Regions from separate parts of the Homo sapiens genome. Here regions 2, 3 and 4 are each linked to region 1. Evidence: promoter capture Hi-C in 16 types of primary human blood cells and fetal thymus (Javierre and others, 2016). All regions are on one chromosome and are shown on one strand. The core of a region is centred on a gene start or on the middle of the fragment in contact, and the rest is flanking DNA. Distances in the headings are between cores, read along the strand shown.

The links. Contacts are between HindIII fragments. The CHiCAGO score rates a contact against its expected background, and 5 or more counts as called.
Region 2: a fragment that was not itself captured here is called in contact with the fragment with the promoter of CD247 in region 1 in 6 of 17 cell types (fetal thymus, naive CD4 T cells, naive B cells and 3 more); the score reaches 6.9 in fetal thymus.
Region 3: a contact is called between a fragment that was not itself captured here and the fragment with the promoter of CD247 in region 1, in 1 of 17 cell types (fetal thymus). The highest score is 5.1, in fetal thymus.
Region 4: a contact is called between a fragment that was not itself captured here and the fragment with the promoter of CD247 in region 1, in 6 of 17 cell types (naive CD4 T cells, fetal thymus, activated CD4 T cells and 3 more). The highest score is 7.1, in naive CD4 T cells.

What each region holds. Positions count from the first base shown.
Region 1 is chr1:167,516,854-167,520,090 of GRCh38, forward strand. CD247 (CD247 molecule) reads right to left here and starts at 1,676. Exons shown (of 8, transcript NM_198053.3): 1 at 1,555-1,676. The coding sequence starts at 1,612. It also overlaps the pseudogene AKR1D1P1. RefSeq lists enhancers at 73-1,036, 308-1,507. The HindIII fragment of the contact is 3,961 bases long and covers 1-3,234 here.
Region 2 is chr1:167,252,103-167,255,501 of GRCh38, forward strand. The region is part of intron 1 of POU2F1 (POU class 2 homeobox 1); the gene reads left to right. It overlaps LOC124900412 (a long non-coding RNA gene), which reads left to right. Exons shown (of 2, transcript XR_007066718.1): 1 at 1-3,399. Among named protein-coding and RNA genes, the nearest start is that of POU2F1, 33 kb to the left of the region's middle. The HindIII fragment of the contact is 2,062 bases long and covers 838-2,899 here.
Region 3 is chr1:167,209,271-167,212,690 of GRCh38, forward strand. No RefSeq gene overlaps it. Among named protein-coding and RNA genes, the nearest start is that of POU2F1-DT, 9.6 kb to the right of the region's middle. The HindIII fragment of the contact is 997 bases long and covers 1,020-2,016 here.
Region 4 is chr1:167,235,117-167,238,737 of GRCh38, forward strand. The region is part of intron 1 of POU2F1 (POU class 2 homeobox 1); the gene reads left to right. Among named protein-coding and RNA genes, the nearest start is that of POU2F1, 16 kb to the left of the region's middle. The HindIII fragment of the contact is 535 bases long and covers 1,917-2,451 here.

The DNA of each region.
Region 1 (3,237 bases), core at 426-2,925:
GCCACCCAACAATCTTTCATTTTTCTTTCTAACTTCACTTTGCCCCTACCTTGGTCTCTCCAAGCCGAACACAAATGGACCAGTGAGGAAACTGCAGGTAAAGACCCTGAAAGGTTATATGAGCTCCCTGGTGTGGTGTCTCAAGCCTGAAGCTCAGAGGCTGGAGCTATTGCCCCTGGCTGTCTCCCCTGAAGTCACTAAATTCCAGCGTTCTGGGTCCCCTTGTCCCCAGCACACAAGGATGGGCTGCTCTGAGCAAGCTCAGGCACCCTCACTCTGCCACACTGTGTGTGTGACTTAGACCCCACAAGGCTTTTCTGAGAAAACAGCTGTGACCTGACAGAAACCCCTGCAGCTGCACGGGCCTCAGAATCCCCCGAGGCGCTGGCCCGGGCTGTGCCTGGCTCCCTGGTGGGAGCAGAAGTGCCCATGGCCTCTCCTGCCCTCCCAACAGGGCCCCTAAACAAATTCCCACACCCAGGTGAGTTACCAGGAGCGATCAGGTGGGCCGAGGACATTTGCTTGCTTCACCTTCCCTGTTTCTTTAGATTGAAATTCAGCCTGCCCCACTTCTCAGGAAGATGCCACGAGGCTGATCCCCCTGAGCAGTTTGTCCTGTCCTCTTTTCACTGGTTTTCTTCCTCATTACCTGGGCTAGAAAACATGGTGGAAGCTAAAGGCTTGCAGCAAAGCTGGGCTCCCACGATCGGGAATGAGGTGAGGAGCAAGCACTCTTGTTGGCTGGGCGCTGCTCGTGGTGGTGACTTAACCAGGCACATCGTCTCATCTGCCCCGTGTTCTGTCAATGCCGGGCCCTCTGGCTGGGCTAGATGGCCGCCTAAGGGGCAGGCTGGGGTGAGTCACGGAGCCTGGGATGGTGCGTCACCCGGCAGTCCCAGGCGTGGGTGTGGGGACAGCCATGACAAGGCTGAGCCTAGACACGGACGCTTGGCCATGAGGTGGCGAAGGCGCTGTGGAGGCTGCCACCCGGTGCTTCCTGCCTGTGCCCCTCTCCTCCTTGGTTACCCCACTTACTCCCGGGCCCATTGGAGTGTTTCAGGCCATGACCTTGACTGACCAACAAAATCTTCTTTGTTGGCAAAGGAAGAAAGAAAGGGGCTGAGTGACGGAGCCAGCCAGAGGGTGAAAGAAGCTGAAGGGACTAGAACGTCGCAGCACGAAACATGGCCTGGCTGACATTTTCCGATCCTGTCCAGCTTCTGTGAAACACTCCCTCTCCGTTTCTCTACCCTGGGCCTGCCTCGGTTGCTCTCTTGCTTCCTTCTTCCTTCCTCTCTTATCACTCGAAAAATCTGTACCTGGAGGAGCTGTGTATTCTAGCAGCTGGCTCTGAACTGATGCCCAACTCGGCTGTGACGGAGCAGATGCCAGCACCGGGCCGGACCCCTCACTGCTCACTTGCCCATTGATTTGAGGAGGGCAGGATTTGAAGGAGACCCCAGCCCCTCACCACCCTCCACTACCCACACCCACTCCCCTACACATACACAAAGAGTTTCTAGAAGTTCCCTGCCGTCGACACGTCGGCCCTACCTGTAATCGGCAACTGTGCCTGCAGGATGGCCGCGGTGAAAAGCGCCTTCCACTTCATCTTGTCCTTTCCCTCAGAAAGAGGCTGGGAGGCAGAGGCTGAGGCAGCGGTGGCCGGGACGGTTAGGAGAAAAGGAGTCTCTGCTGGTTTTATTCTGCAGCTACCTCCCCAGGAAGTGGAGGACTGTGGGGCCTTTGAGAAAGCACCTGCCGACAGGGCCAAGAAATTCGCACTCCCCCTTTCGGTTCACAGGCAGGAAGCCCTGGAGGTTTGAGGGTTTGGGGTGTGTGTATGTATCTGTCTGTCTGAATTTTGCTTTTTCTCTCATTTGACCATTGTTTTAATGCTCCTTTTTTTAAAAAAAATAATTCTTATCTAATTCCTATCTTGATTGGTAAAGTCCATCTCTAGGCAAATACAAGTTCTCGATGGATGTAAGAACATTTGCTGTTTTCCTAGACTGTCAAATATTTTATGGTGGCTGGCAAAATGACAGAACCCTGGATTAGAGTCCAGGACAAATGTAGAGACAGATTCCTTGGGCTTTAGTGACATCTCTGCCTACCACCTACTTGCTGTGTGGCGTTGAGTCAGTCACTCAACATCTCTAGACTTCAGCTTCCTTATCTATAAAGCAAAGAGCTGGAGTAGATCTGAGGTTGCAGATCTGAACTTGGCCTGAATTTGGATCATTGTGTGAAATACTGTAGCTCACATAGTATTTTAAACACTTGTGTTAGTTGTCAACATTTAAACACCAGAGTAATTTACAATAATAAAACATTAAAACCTAGACATAAACTTCGTCTAAAAATTGTAATATATCTATATGAAACAAACTTTAAAACATTGCTGAAGAACGCCGAAAGGACTTGGGTAAATGGAAAGGCATACCCTTCTTTGATAGGAAGCTCTCTTTTAAGGAGACCACCATTCTCTCTTAATTAATCAATCTATTTCATTGAAAATACCAACAAAAAGTTTTAGAACAAGTTAAGCTGATTCCAAAATTGATATGAAAAAAATTAATGTACAAGAATAGCCAATAATCCAAAGTCACAGCAATCCAACATAAAATTGATAAATTGGACTTCATCACAATTAAAAGTTTTTGTGCATCAAAGGACACTATGAAGAAAGTGAGTCCTGCAAATCACCGCATACCTCTAAGTGATGGAAACAGCATTCCCATCATCAGACTTGGTACCTACTCAGAGCCTAAATTGACCCCTAAGGGGGCCGATGACTTACTCAAGGCCACACAGCAAGTAGGTGGTAGGTAGAGATGTCACTACAGCCCAAGTAGTCTGTCTCTACATTTAGTCTGAGTCTTCATCAGTGAAGGTTGTCATTGGTCTGGGGTGCTGACACACTGATGAAGCCTACATATACCAAAATGAAGACACAGCTGGGGAGGCCATCAGGGGGAAAATAGCAGAAGGAAAGGTGCAGAGGAAGGATATCTTCTACTGTGGAAAACTGTGGGCTACAAATCACAACCCAGAGCTGGTCTGCCCGAGCCTAGAGAGGATGCTCAAGGTCCTCCAGCTAGATTGTGTGGATCTTTACATCACTGAAATACCCATGGCCGCTAAGCCAGAAGACAAAATCTACCCTATAGGTGAGAATGGCAAATGGTTATATCACAAGTCAAATCTGTGTGCCACTTGGGAGACTTCGGAAGC
Region 2 (3,399 bases), core at 619-3,118, 260 kb before region 1:
CCACCTGCCTCGGCCTCCCAAAGTGCTAGGATTACAGGTGTGAGCCACCGCTGCAAGTCTCTTCTTCATATCCTGATTATTTAAATCAAATGTATTTCTTTTCTGAGGTCTTGGAGTTTTCCCCATGTTTTAAAATGTGTTTCCTTACCTTTTAACTTATAACAGAATCCCTTTAAGACGCTTTTACAAATGAAGGCCATGCTATTTGCTATTAGGATTATCTGAACAGACCAACAGAGAGTATATTTGACCAACAGTCCAGGTTTCATGTGAAGAAGGAGAAGCACGTATGTTTGTAGTTCTTTGTAGTTTGTGCCTACAAAACAGCAGTCACCACTAAAATACTTATTTGAAATATTTTAAAGTGCTGAGATTACATGCGTGAGCCACCGCGCCCGGCCTGAATCTGTTTTTAATGTTAATTTTTTATTTTTCTCACTGAAGGGGAACCAGCGCCCTATTAAACTCCATTGTTGGTAATTTGAGAACACAAACCAATTAATATCTATATTCTGAATAATTATATAGTTAAGGTGCAGCTTTTATTATATCTGGCTTTTTACTTTGTTGCAAACTCCAAACCAAAGAATGTTCATAACTGTCCTACAGCAGTGAAATGAATTAAAGTAATTCTGGTCATTAGAAAATCTTTAAATTATTTTAAGAATACGTAACTGACTGTGATAACTTCTTGTTTATAACAGGTTAACATGGATGACTAGTTTATAGCTTTTGATCTTATGTGTAATGACACTGGGAAGAAAACATGTATCCCTCTAAGGTAGCATTTCTGTTATTTCTATGCCCAAAGACTGTGCTGACCGCCATTTTGCCAGAAGCTTTGAACACTGTTGACTGATTGATGTGTACATCTAATTCAGATTTACATAATCTAATTGGACCCTTGGGTTCTTAAAAAATGGCCTTCTTTTATCACCATATGTGTTCATTACAATGCATATTTTAAAATGAGATGGCCCAAAGAGCATGCTATGATGAATTTACTGTTGAAATACTTGTGAAACTTGGATAAACCTAATTATCAAGGGACAGTTTCACTTAAGAGGGCAAAAGTTTCACTTCAAAGAAAAGCCTACTGCTCTTGCTTTTAATGGTTTGAATTATGTTTTTATCTTTCATCAGCCCAAGAGTTTGTACTTCAGGGTCAGAAACAAAACTTGGAGCCTCTGTGAATCCTGTAATCATTTACTAACTCTCTTGTAGAACAAGATGTCATTTTTTCCTACTATTCTGTTTCATTCTTTATTTTTCTGCCCCCCCCCCCCCAAACACACAGGAGAGTGGAACTTGGGATTATAATTGGTTAATGGGTTTTTTGGGTTTTTTTGGTCTTACTCTGTCACCCGGGCTGGAGTGCAGTGGTGCTATCTTGGCTCACTGCAACCTGTGCCTCTCAGGCTCAGGCGATCTTCCCACCTCAGCCTCCTGAATAGCTGGGACCACAGGTGCCTGCCACCACGCCTGGTTAATTTTTTGTATTTTTGGTAGAGACAGGGTTTCACCATGTTGCCCAGGCTGGTCTCAAATTCTTGAGCTCAAGTGATCCGCCGGCCTTGACCTCCCAAAGTGCTGGGATTATAAGCCTGAGCCACCACGTCCAGCCAGAATTTTTTATTTTTTAAGAAAGAAAGTTTATCTTAGGTCCTCCTTCCCCCATACCCCATTTTAATTTGGTGCCAGGTTTGCCTGTCTCTGTGGAGAAAAGAATAGAAATGTTGGCTGAGGGAAAGTTTTTATGTCTCCTCTAATACGTATTTCATTTTTTTCTATTTGCTCCTTGCTTTTCTAATACAGGTAGGATAAAGAGGCAACTTCAGGAATACCCAGACTTTAGCTCCATCTAGGAATTTTTATTGGTTTGTTTTTTGACTAGAGTGTAGAATGGAAGCTCTTTTGGCTGGGTTGGGTCCTTGGGCAAAATATTTCAGACTCCTGTATTATATGGTGAATTAAATTGCTTCACTGGCACTTTTTCTTTTTTAAAGCCTGTTCACACTTTATACAGTTTTTGAAGAGGAAAACTTTGGATAGTGCTCTTTCAAACCAGGCAAATGCCTCGGTTTCTTTTAAAAAATCTTTGTAAAATAATAATATTAGTCTGACTTAAAGGTTATGATGGAATACATATAAAACATTTGGGAGTCTCAATTCTATTTAATGTAGGTTCGATCAATGTTACTAATGTGCTTTAGCTGCAATATATTAATATTTGTTTCTTAGCATCCTGAGGCTAGCCACTTGCCTCTTGTTCACCTTACTAGTACAACTAAACTAGTGTCTGGCCCTGAAGGTGGGCAGAAAATATTCATTAAATTGAATTTTGATGTAGGGATAATTCTGTTTCTTTGTGTCTTGCCTAAGTTTAATTCATGTCATAGTCATGTTTCACATGTATCTTAATTCTTACTGCATAAAATGTTCATGCAAAAGGCAGTATTAATTTTACTCATTGTTAACAATCAGCAAGTACTATTCAGAGTCTGACTCATAACCATAGAGTATCTTGATGCTATAATCAGAAACATTTATTATCCCTGGCTTTAGCAGTTGAACTTACAGGATAATGTTTAGTTCTCATTATCAGAGAAAAAGGTGATTCAGGTAATTTCTTCATTTGTTCGTTTCTCTATCCCTCTACCCCAGTGTCTTGAAAAAATATTTAGCTAGAATGCTCAAAAATGGTGTGTTAGCATTCATTTTCTTCCATTAGGTGATTTTTGTTGACTATCATTAATAGCAATATGTAAGACTTACTATTCATTTGCCTATTTATTCATTCTACAACATTTATTGTTTTTCTACTGCCAGGAACAATTTGAAGTGCTGGATATATTTAGTGGGAATTGGTTTTCTTAGGCAGATTATCATCTGTTTGTGAAGCTTTTTCACAGTGTACGTGCCTGGCCCCAAATCTAGGAGATTCTTGTTTGGTATATTTGGTGTGGTGTAAGTTCAGGCATCTGTATTTTTACAGAGCTTTTCAAATGACTCTAATGCACGTTTGCTTTTGAGTACCATAGGAATAAAACAAGTCTCATTCAATAGGTACTCAAAATAGGTAAATGCAGTAAAGTTTCATAGATGCTGTAAGAGAAACTGTTGGTATAGTGTGGGCACAAAGCAAGAAGTCCTACTAGGTACCTCAGGAAAGGTTTCCTAAGAATAGAAATGCCTAGCTGAATCTTGTTCTCCTAAGTGTTTTAGAGTAGGTGGAACCCATGAATCTATAGATTAGCCTAAGTAAATTCCAGTATGCAGGGCAATGTGAACAAAAAGAGAGAGGTGTGAAACAGCTTACAGCATTTTGGAAATTGCAAGTAGTTGGCATGATTGAATTACTAGATGAGGATGGTTAAAAATAAGATAGTTTTTATGGTG
Region 3 (3,420 bases), core at 268-2,767, 310 kb before region 1:
GTTTCAGTTCCTTGATACTATCTGGGAGGGCTGATGTTTGGTTTTCTGAGAAAGGAACTCAGATAAAATAAATGTTTAGTGCTTCAGTGGAAGTTTATATATATGTAACTTTCCCAAGTTTCAAGACTGGGAGGATGAATTTCTATGTTTATTCAAAAGAAACCATAAACATCAGTTCTAGGGACAATTGGGCTGGCTTCAGTCATGCACATTTAGCCCTTTCCTGTACCCTACATCCCCTCTATTTGAAAGCAGTGGTCCTACACTCAAACAGTCTTCAGGTCCTCACCTCCAACCATGACCTCCCTCTTGTATGTCTTGTCTTTCTAAGGGATCCCCAGTCACCCACCCAAAAAGCTAGTGGCTGTCCAAGGCTCCTCCTTTGCCTTCATCCTCCCGGCTCTGAACAACTCCTGGCCACTGATTCCTGTCTGAGTTAGGAGTTAGATGCATCTGCTCTGAGCTCCCCTGATCTACACGTACTTCACAATGTGCACTTTACCCACACTGGTGAATGCTCAGTAGACTCAGATTGTCTTGCAGGAAGGACTTAGGGTTTTTATCTCTGAATAATGATATTTGTGGAACTAAAGTGAAATAAAAGAATAATAGCTCAATAAACCTCAGTTTGCATTCTCCCTATTATTTCTTTTGCTCAAGATGCTGACTTGTGTGGCTTTTGTGTCTGGCTCTTGCCCTGCCTACATGTAGGACTGGTTTCTGTGGGTATTTCTGGTGAGATCTCAGAAGTATCTCACAAAATCCTATCAGTACACACAATACAGGGAGCACTAAGAAAGCACTGCAATCCCCATCTTACAGGGGAGGACCCTAGTGTACAGGGGCTTTCAAGATCTTCGTGTGAGGTTAAACAGTCAGTGAGAGGCAAGCCTGGGATCAATCCTGGGTGTGGCTGATGCCAGTACCCACACATAACCATTATCATAACTCTATTCCCTCCTCAATAGGTGTGATCAGTTACCCATGGCATCCTCATTTTACACTCCTTCGTCTACTTAAGCTTCCCTTTCCAAGCACTGCTAGTGCTTTTGATTGGTGCTTCTGATGCCTCTCACAAAGCACTGCAGTCCTCAATTTGCCAGAATGGGGCAGATTGTTCTCTCTTGCTCTTTTGTTCATTCAACTTTGTCAGAGGATTATTAAAGCTCCTTGTACCCCTATGTCCCCTAGAAAATTTCATGAAGTGGGCAGAAATTCAGCGGATATGCTCTGGCCTTGGGCACAGCTGGCAGATGCCCTGATGGATTAGGTGCCAAATTGGATAAATTACTGGGTGTGGTGGCTCATGCTTGTACTCCCAGCACTTCGAGAGGCTGAGGCAGGAGGACTGCTGGAGTCCAGGAGATTGAGACCAGCCTGGGCAACATAGTGAGACTTCATCTCTACAAAATAAAATAATTGTCTGGGTATGGTGGCATGTGCCTCCATAAAGGATAAATTGTCTTAATATAAGTTAAACATAACTTAAACATAAATTAAATACAAATGTAATTCCCCATTTATTTAATATTTAAATTAAATATAACATATTAATATATAAACACATGTATTTCGTTTTTGAAATATATATTTATATCCATCCAATGTATATATTTGTTTTGAAGCCTCTTTCTCTTATTTGTTGTTTACTAGTTTTGTTTTGTTTTTTGGTTTTTTTTTTTGAGATGGAGTCTCGCTTTGCCGCCCAGGCTAGAGTGCCGTGGTGCAATCTCAGCTCAGTGCAACCTCCGCCTCCTGGGTTCAAGCAATTCTCCTGCCTCGGCCTCCCAAGTAGCTGGAATTACAGGTGCATGCCACCATGCCCAGCTACTTTTTGTATTTTTAGTAGAAATGGGGTTTCGCCATGTCAGCCACGCTGGTCTCCTGACCACTCCTGGCGCTCCTGATATCAGGTGGTCCGCCCGCCTCGGCCTCCCAAAGTGCTGGAATTTCAGGTGTGAGCCACTGCACCCGGCCTGTTTACTAGTTTTACATTTACTTCCACCCTACTTCTCAAGCTTCTAATCTATAACTAGATCTTAGGAGAATGATCCAGCGGGTGGTTTTACTGACTTCCTGGTTGTAAGACTGTGTCTTTGTCTTCCTACTTGGCTAAATCTTCAACATCCTATAAAGCTGTAGCCCCAGGCAGAAGTTAGGCCACAATTTTACTCAGCCTCCATTTACAAAACTGTGTGGGAGTGTGAAATGACATAGGTACAAGGCTGTTCATTGTGATATTGAGAGTAACAGAGAACATTTATCTGTAAATAGCATGTGTACAGCAAGAGAGGACTCGAGTAAACCACGGTTCACGCACACAATGAACTACACAGAGCTATAAAAAAGAAAGTAAAATCTCCATGTCCTGATATGGAACAATCTTCTGTACATACAGTTAAGCGACAAAAGCAAGGTATAGAACAGTGCATATGGTGTGCTATCTTTTGTGTAAAAGGGTATGCTATCCTTTTAAGAAAGCGAGAGACACCACATGCCTGTGGTCCCAGCTACTTGGGAGGCTGAGGTAGGAGAATCACTTGAGCCCAGGAGTTTGGGCTGCAGTGAGCTATGATTGCGCCTGTGAATGTGAATAGCCACTGCACTCCAGCTTGGGCAACATCATAGAGAGATCCTGTCTCAAAAAAAAAAAAAAGGAAGAGAAATAAGAATATATATAGTTGCGAGAAGAGCCATTGGAAGAATACACAACAAACCAATAAAAATGATTTCCTAAAGAAGAGGGAAAGTGAGACTGGAGTAAACATGAGATTTCTCTGTATCATAAAATGCTATAGTTTGAGTTTTGAATTTTGATTTATGTAATATGTAGATATTAAAATATCTACCAATTACCAAAATAAAAAAAAAAAGAGTGTGTGTACCTGTGTGTAGAGGGCAGGATGCTTCCAAGCCCAGAGCCTAGTTCCAAGCCCATTTTAGCACCTCTTTGTGGTGCTAAAATTCCAAGTACCACTGCCTGCCTCAAGGCAGCTAACCTACTCCTGGTCTGCATTTATGTGCTCTTCCTGGTTTGTGGAAATGATTATTGCTTTTGAGTCTGTTTCTTTTTGGTTTTCTCTTTTTCTATTTCATCTGTCTTGCTGAATATTTGGAGCAGAGGAAATGTTTAGATTTGTGAAACTATTGTGCCATTGTAAGTCCTTTTCCTTTAGTTTTAACCCTTATTATTGAAAATCCTTTAAAAATATTTTTTTCTTACCTTACAAAGTCCAGCACACTCAGAATTACTAAACATTTCTCAGATAACAAAACATAATAGAATGAACTTTATAACCCTTAATTATCAGTATAAAATCATTACATTTCATAGAGTTTAAAATGTCATTGTAAGATGCACCATTATTTTATGTACCATTAGAAAATGCTGCCAAGGCCCAGCGTGGTGGCTCACGCCTG
Region 4 (3,621 bases), core at 934-3,433, 280 kb before region 1:
CAGTCATTCACACCTCATTTAATCATGCCCTGCATCACCTTGTTGAGTTGTTAATGCTGTTTATTTCTCAATTTTTCTTTTACACTACATTGCTAAGTCCCCCCATCTTCCTCTTCATAGTGCTTTCCCTACCCTCTGAGTACTTGCTTCTTCATGCTCTGGCCAAGGAGAGTGGTGTTTTGGCAGACTGTTTTATACATGTACACTTATATGCCAATCATCATTAGTTAGAAAGGAATTGGTGAAAATGCTCTTATGTTATGAGAGACATGTTCAACATCACAATAGTCTGAGAAGATGAATTAACAATTTATGAGTGTTGCTGGAAAGTATGATTTCAGGCGATTAGACTATAGGGGCAAAGCCATTGCCGGCTTATGCTGTTGGAATCACATCTTAGTAGTTACATAATGCCATCAGGACCAGTACGAGACTGGTTTGGTGATTGAGCCCATTTCCTGGGATTTGTTCCTATGTATTGCAGACAGATGTCCACGCTTAGGTGTGCATGCTCCTGTCATGCATGTACACATAATTTTTAAAAAAGGAGTCATAGTGCATATCCTATTATATACTTGCTGTTTTTCCCCCATTGCTCTCTATTCTTTAGTTCACTCATTTAAATAAGATAAACATTTTAATGAAATCATATTCTTTGCAGTAACTTGGATGGAGCCAGAAGCCATAATCCTAAGTGAATTAATGCAGGAACAGAAAACCAAAGACTGGTTTGGTCTGTTCTGCTGAGACCTAGTGGAGGAGGCTAGTCCAAAATAGTAGTCTCCCATAAACTTTCTTTAACAGAATATACACACTTAAAAATTTTGTACATGTCGTCAGGTTGCTTTTAGTACCACTCTATATTTTTTATCTACAGTATTTAATAGTGTCAGTTTCTCCTGCACTGTTAACTATTAGTCTTTTAAATTTTTCCTAGGTTGATGAAAAACACTTCATTGCTTTAATTTTAATGTTTTTACTCTAATTTGGACATCTTTTTTTTTTTAGACAGACGATTGCTCTGTCTCCCAGGCTGGAGTGCAGTGGTGTGATCTCGGCTCCCTGCAGCCTCCACCTCCCAGGTTCAAGCAATTCTCTGCCTCAGCCTCCTGAGGAGCTGGGATTACAGGCGCCTGCCACCATGCCTGGCCAATTTTTGTATTTTTAGTAGAGATGGAGTTTCACCATCTTGGCCAGGCAGGTGTTGAACTCCTGACCTCATGATCCACCTGCCTTGGCCTCCCAAAGTGCTGGGATTACAGACATGAGCCACCGCGCCCGGCCGACATCTTCTTATTAAATTTTTATTAAATTAAATCTTACTAAATTTTATTAAATATAAAATCTTTTATCATTAGTTTTCAAATGTACAACAATGATTTATTTTTCCTGTTTTGGCCGTTTCAGAATACTTGTAGTTTTCCTGAAAATTTATGACTTCTTAAATATTCTCTTTCGACGTGTGCCTGCCCCACCTCCTTCCCCGCAGCTAATTCCTATACCTCTTTGGAGAAGTAGCTTAGGGATGCAGGTGGAGCTTGGATCAGTCTACCTGTTAGTCACATGCTTTACTTGCATCCCACTATTAGCTGTTCATTTATAGAAAGGGGATGGTTGCAGAGTCTGGGCAGGGATGGGTCAGCTGTGGCACTGTGGTCCTGGAGAGTCATACCCTACTCTTGGACAAAAATGTTTCTCTTAGCAGAGAACTGGAGTGAGCATATTTTTTTTACTCTGCTTTCTCTAAAGGCAATTTTAATTTTTAAGTCAAATATATGGGAGGTAGGGATAAAGGAGAAATGGAAAGATAATAGAGTTTTAGCAGTCTAGGGGTCTATTTCCTACACAAGGGCTTGGAAATGATAAGACTAATCCTGAAATATTTTCAGTGCTGGATTTCACCTAACCTCCTAGCAAGCTTGGAGTTCTCTGGGACTTGGGGAGCAAGAAATTTAAGGAAGCTGACAATAAGGAGGAAGGTATCTAACTTCTGAGTAGAGATGGCTTGATGGTGATGATACTTGTGAACTAGGGTTAACATACAGCAGTGACAGCATTGTAAAGTCTGTCAGTGGTGAGAAAAGATGACAGTGACCTTGAAGGAGAGAGGCTATCTAACGAGAACATACTTATGCGTGTTGGGGAGTGTAAACGCCTACCTAGACTTTCTGCTGGGTTATTTAGAATGTTGAGAAGTTAATAGATTCATATTGTTGCATGCATAAGTTTTTGTCCTACTATTTGGGATGGATGAGGAAAGAGCTCAGAAAAGAAACAGGTTACAGTAACAGCCCTGTTGGTCTTGTTTGTTGTTTTTCCGGTACCCTTTGGCCATTTTTATCAAGTAATTTTTGTATTTTCTTTTTCATCTGCCGGTATGTTATTTTTACCATTTTGAGTGATGTCTGTGGAATAAGAAATGTTTGTAAATATTTTGTGACTTACATGGTAAGCTTGACTAGGTTTACACAAAGTCATTTTGTACTACCATTTGTCTGATTTCTACAAATACATTATTTGGGGGTATTCTTTAATTTTTCTTTCCCCTTTTGTCCTTAATTCCTCTTCCCCTGTTCCTCCAGTTAATTGAGTTACTGGTTTTATTTTTTAAATCCATATATGTGTGTGTGTATATATATATATATATATATATATATTTTTTTTTTTTTTTTTTTTTTTTTTTGGCAGAGTGTTGCTCTGTCGCCCAGGCAGGAGTGCAGTGGCGTGATCTCGGCTCACTTCAGCTTCCACCTCCAGGGTTCAAGCGATTCTCCTGCTTCAGCCTCCCGAGTAGCTGGGATTACAAGTGCGTGCCACCGCACCCGGCTAATTTTTTTGTATTCTTAGTACAGATGGGGTTTCACTGTGTTGGCCAGGCTGGTCTCTAACTCCTGACCTGAAGTGATCTGCCCGCCTTGGTCTCCCAAAGTGCCGGGATTACAGGTGTGAGCCACCATGCCCAGCCCATATATTCTTAATTTCTTGAGTAAGCCCTTGATTTCTCATGTGACCTTTTTTCTGATCCCTTAAATTAAAAAATTTTTTTGAGATGCATTAATGTAAATTTTATCCATTTATTTATTTGTTTCATTTTGTCTCTCAAGTTGGTTTATAGAGATTTATCAACTGTATGGCAAGAAATGCAAAATAAAAATATAAAAGACCTAATATAAAAATCTAATATTTATTTCCGGTGGGGCCCAAATACTCTGTAAACTTCTTAGTAGATGATGCAAACAAGGAAAACTTGGTCAATTTATGCCCATAAAATTTGAAAACAAACAAACTTTTAAGAAAAGCACAACAATTCCTGGTACTAAGATCAGAAGGAAACTTCTCTTCAGAGGCCTTATAAACAGGACCCTATGTAATGTAATAAACAGTGCCCTCAACAGTCTTCCTACTGTGGACACACCAACAAATTTCAGAATGCCCCTGTATAGGCCAAATGCATCATACCAGAGCACCTTCATTAAGGCAGTTAATTGGTGGGAGATGAGGATATTGAGTGAGGACTATTCAAAATGGTCTGACTTAAAAAGGGAAAAGATTTTGGAATAATTAGAAGAATGGAGATACTGCATATTCTTTAGGCAATCTTCCATAAATACCTGTTTTGTT